Linked DNA regions of Homo sapiens: region 1 is linked to region 2. Evidence: promoter capture Hi-C in human tissues and cell types (Jung and others, 2019). All regions are on one chromosome and are shown on one strand. Each heading gives the region's core, a stretch centred on a gene start or on the middle of the fragment in contact. The rest is flanking DNA. Distances are from core to core; before and after follow the strand shown.

Evidence for each region. The method cuts DNA at HindIII sites, captures the fragments that hold promoters and counts their contacts. A contact is called where the count stands out against the background at its distance.
Region 1: a contact is called between a fragment that was not itself captured here and the fragment with the promoter of ANGPT1 in region 2, in 1 of the 25 tissues and cell types used here (IMR-90 fibroblasts).

Annotation. Positions count from the first base shown.
Region 1 is chr8:106,691,535-106,694,234 of GRCh38, reverse strand. It overlaps OXR1 (oxidation resistance 1), which reads right to left. Exons shown (of 17, transcript NM_001198533.2): 7 at 1,358-1,507. Among named protein-coding and RNA genes, the nearest start is that of OXR1-AS1, 35 kb to the right of the region's middle. The HindIII fragment of the contact is 5,852 bases long and covers 1-2,700 here.
Region 2 is chr8:107,496,619-107,499,318 of GRCh38, reverse strand. ANGPT1 (angiopoietin 1) reads left to right here and starts at 1,401. Exons shown (of 9, transcript NM_001146.5): 1 at 1,401-2,057. The coding sequence starts at 1,761. The HindIII fragment of the contact is 10,393 bases long and covers 1-2,700 here.

The DNA of each region.
Region 1 (2,700 bases), core at 90-2,589, 810 kb after region 2:
TATTCCACCCAACACAAATATAATGTGTCTCTTACAGTGCACACATTACATTTATTAAAACATACGATATTCTAGACCATAAAACAGGTCTAAATAAAGCCTTCAAATAGTAGTGTGTTCTCTGATCACACAGAATCGAATTAGAAATTAGTAAAAGACAGTTATCTAGAAAAATAAAACACTCTCAAATGGGTCAAAGAAGAAATCAAGAGAAAATATTTTAAAGTAAATGAAAATGAAAACACAACATTTAAAACAATATTTAGGGCAAAATGCATACCACTAAATGCTTATTATGTGTTTCAAATACTCATAAATTTATGAATTATACTTCAAAGAAATAGTTCTCATGTGTGAATTCTAAAGGCAGTATCATGTTATAGACATTTTTTGAGCAAAATCTGGAGTTTATTTTCCAACTCTATTACTTTACTATATTCTCTTTTCAGATTAGAAGTTTTTGCTTAGAAAAGCAACAAAGTGAAGCAGACAAAATAGATTCTGGGCTGGGTGCGGTGGCTCACACCTGTAATCCCAGCACTTTGGGAGGCCGAGGCAAGTGGATCACCTGAGGTTAGGAGTTTAAGACCAGCCTGACCAACATGGTGAAACCCTGTCTCTACTAAAAATACAAAAAGTTAGCCAGATGTGGTGGCGAGTGCCTATAATCCCAGCTACTCAGGAGGCTCAGGCAGGAGAATTGCTTGAACCCAGGAGGCAGAGGTTGCAGTGAGCCGAGATCACGCCATTGCACTCCAGCCTGGCTGATAAGAGCGAAACTTCATCTCAAAAAAAAAAAAAAAAAAAAAAGATTCTGACTAGGTTTGAATTCTGGCCATTATAGAGAGATCTTGGACCTATTAACCTTTCCTATGAACCCTTCCTGTTTTGTTTTTCCCTGTGGAAAAGAAATATGACTGCCTATTTCACAAGATTGTTTTGAATTGATAAAATAATTAAGATACCTCAAATACTCTCTGGCATATAGAAGGTACTCAATAAATACTAGATATCTTCCTATTTGTGTGCTATACTAGTTATACAGAAGTTCACACTCCACACAGTACCTGGCAGCAGTCATTTTATTCACACTTTTGAAATATCCTACCAACAGCAACTTAGCTGTGCCTTAGTGAATTTATTTATATTCCATTACTTTTAACAATTACAACAGATCACCAGACTCTAAGTTATAAGCAACATCCATACTAACCCAAAATAATAGTATCACTAGTACCTTTCTATAATATTCAAGCATTTTCTGACATTGATGACTTAAAATGTAAATGCCAAACTATCATACATTAGTAATAACTAAAGCATGATTAAAGGTCTTCTCTAAAGTGTCATTCTTTACCTTGCCACTGGTAATATATTTGCAATTAATTTTAAGAAATTTCTCAGTAAATGCTTCCTCCTCCTCAGAAGTTGAAGATACAACTCGTGCAGGTCGAATACCAGTGAAAGTAGATGAGGGAGTTGCTTCTGTTGGATGGACATCAGGATTCTTTTTTTTTTTTTTAAAGGAAAGAAAAAAAAAAGCAGAAAACAAAATAAAAATGAGCACACTATTAAAAAGTCAAATGAATAGCTTTCCCCAATAAGTGTTGTTTCATTTCACCGCATTCTGGAAGTCAGCCCGAAATATTTTTACGTACAAATTATAGGACAAAAGTGGCACTATTTTCATATTCAATAAAGATCACAAACACAGGTTAAACTTACATTTATAGTGATTTTTAATAGGGAGATACACATATCTATAAATTTAAAAAATAAAATAATCTGGAGAACAGTGAACACTACATCTCTTGTACCCACACCCAACACATACACACACGTGCACACACACTCAGATGCTCCTGAATTAAACCACTGACTCTGATAAGACCATATAATATAATATCCATCAGGTGCTGGGAGCAGTAAAAAGGTGGAAAGCTTACCTTAGTACCTAAGCATACAGCAGAACCCATTCACTGGAATAGCCTTTTAAATCTCGAGCTACAGTTGATAAATCCCATTCCACTAGATCACAAGTTTCTTAACTTTTTTGGTGCTACTGACCATTCTTACAGTGAAGCCTATGAACCAGCTTCTCAGAATGTTTTGGAATGGTCAAAATAAAATAGAGAATTATAAGGAAAAACAAATGGAAACAACATGGTATTAAAACATTTTTTAAAAACAAACTAGAGGTATAGTTATATATATATGTGTATATATATATGTGTGTGTGTGTGTGTGTATATATATAGACACACACACACATATATACGCTTCTTGGTTTTTTTTTGTTGAACTTAAGCTTAGCCAAGTTCAATAACTTGACAAATGAGTAAGGAGCTAAGATGCAAACCTATGTTATCAACACACAAACCAGTGAGCTTAACTGTAATATTGTATCGCTTCCCTTTCAAATCTTCTACCAAACAACTCAAAAATATGCTAAGAAAAAAATAGCTGATGCAGAGCTATAAGAGGGTCCCCTGCAAACTGGCAAAAAGCTATCAACAAATTTTGTGATTCCTCAATTCCCCCAAAACTGAGTTAACCGCATTAGTCACACACAAATATAAATATATGTGTGTGTATATATATATATATATATATATGTATATATATGTGCACATTGTCATATGCTTTCCTTAAATGAAGATATGCCTTTTTGAACAATATATGATCTCTGAGGTTACCTGA
Region 2 (2,700 bases), core at 152-2,651:
TCCAATCAGAAATTTGTTATTTGGTGTGGAAAGGACTGATGAATCTCGGCAAGGTTTCTTTCCCCAAGTAAATCGCATTTGTTCTGGAATTTGTTTTGACCTCTCCTCTAACTTCTCCCTAAATGCCCATCTCTAACCACTACGGACCTTCACCCACTGCCCTGTTCTCCTTCCAAGACATGGGAGATGACAGCTGTGGCTTCTGTTTTCACACCATGACTGCAGTTGTCTAAAAGCCCTCCCAGTTCCTAATGAAAATCCCAACTCATAATTCAGGTTTTCTGCATCTAGTAAAGATCTCAAAGCCGTTCCCTAAATTCTACAATTATTGCCTGTTTATGTTTATGGGTCCCTTTGTTCAAATGTTTATACGCTGCCTGTGGGAAATCATCTTCTGATAATTTTTCTTTCTTCCTTCACAGAAGCACAGAGATGTCTCCTGTACAGCCCATTGCTGGCTGTTAGCACACCTGATATATGCTTGTTCTCACATAGTATGTCTGTGCAGCCACAGGAGGTTTTTATGTGGAACTTCCACACCAGTGTTAAAGACAGCCATAGCCACCAAAGAGATCCTTGTAAAATACAGGATTAGGATATACCACAGGAATTAATAATTCTCAAGCCACTGCTTTAAATTGTAGCCACATTGTTTTTGTAGGGAAGTTGCTCAATTTATATACACAGAACATGAAGGGTTGCATTCTGATCAGGACACCAGTTTCATTTAAGAACCCTATACCAAAAGGTACTTAGATAACCCTCTTTAATATGCACATACTATATTGCTTTGTGCAACATATTGCTTTGAGCAACAAATGATGCTAATTTTCTTGCTAATTTGATCCTCTCTGATTATTTTCTTCAACTCCTAAAAGTCTAAGTGAATACAATGAAAGAATACCATCTGTAAAAACTGTTTTTTAACATATTTTTCCTCAGAGTCAAGAATACATGTTTTTTAAAGACATTTAATAATGATATGGGTTTATCATTCTCTATCAAAAATAATTCCATTGGACATTATGCCAATTTTCTTCTTAGGGTCCCTCGACTAAATAGTAACTTTAAAAACATACTGCTAGTTTGCTATATTTTAGTAGGTCAGCATGCACACCAAAAGTGTATTAAGGTGGACTGCTCTATTTATTGATTTGCCATGAATCTGCTAAAGGCTCAAGGCAATTGTCTGTGGAAAGGGGCGGGAGGGCCATACATGATCGAGGTCATGCGCATCTAGCCAATTTGTAAGACGATCCCGCCGCCCTAAGCCATCAGCAATCCTTAGTATAGGGGCACACTCATGCATTCCTGTCAAGTCATCTTGTGAAAGGCTGCCTGCTTCCAGCTTGGCTTGGATGTGCAACCTTAATAAAACTCACTGAGGTCTGGGAGAAAATAGCAGATCTGCAGCAGATAGGGTAGAGGAAAGGGTCTAGAATATGTACACGCAGCTGACTCAGGCAGGCTCCATGCTGAACGGTCACACAGAGAGGAAACAATAAATCTCAGCTACTATGCAATAAATATCTCAAGTTTTAACGAAGAAAAACATCATTGCAGTGAAATAAAAAATTTTAAAATTTTAGAACAAAGCTAACAAATGGCTAGTTTTCTATGATTCTTCTTCAAACGCTTTCTTTGAGGGGGAAAGAGTCAAACAAACAAGCAGTTTTACCTGAAATAAAGAACTAGTTTTAGAGGTCAGAAGAAAGGAGCAAGTTTTGCGAGAGGCACGGAAGGAGTGTGCTGGCAGTACAATGACAGTTTTCCTTTCCTTTGCTTTCCTCGCTGCCATTCTGACTCACATAGGGTGCAGCAATCAGCGCCGAAGTCCAGAAAACAGTGGGAGAAGATATAACCGGATTCAACATGGGCAATGTGCCTACACTTTCATTCTTCCAGAACACGATGGCAACTGTCGTGAGAGTACGACAGACCAGTACAACACAAACGCTCTGCAGAGAGATGCTCCACACGTGGAACCGGATTTCTCTTCCCAGAAACTTCAACATCTGGAACATGTGATGGAAAATTATACTCAGTGGCTGCAAAAAGTAAGTGATTGCTTTCAGTTTCTAATAGCACGGACCTTTTTCCTTTCTTGCACTGCAGCTAACTTAAAGTTCCTTAGGGGAGCATTTGTGTATTTACCTTTTGCTCCAGGGGGGCAGTGTTTGCAATTGCAAGACGGCTGTCTGGGTTTGGCTTCCTGGGTAAGCCAAGGTTTGGGGGCTTGCCCAAACCTATGAATGTGTGGGGGCACCCCGTTTGTGTGTCTAGCCCTGGCAAATTTTATGACATTTTTGGTTTCTCTTTTCTAAAGTTCAGCATTAAGGTTCTCTCTGTCAAAACACTACCTTAAGAAAGAAAGTATGTACCTCTTAAGCAAGTTGGTGAAAAATAAATAATAATGACAATATTAATTAATAAGATCAAATCGATTTTGCACCAGAAAATTTTGTGCCGCTGGGGTGGCAAATCATCACAAAGTATTTGTTTTTTTAACCTTTATAAAAATTAACATGAAGTGAGAGTAAATATAAAATATGATATTTGGTTGGAGAAATTGTATATTTATGTAAAGGGAACTGTTAGTTTCAGCAAGTGGTAGAATAGTAGACTGATTTCTGTTAAATATTTTTTTCTTCTGTCCTTGAGAAAAAAAATTAAAAAGATACATTGTAATGTTAACTGTCG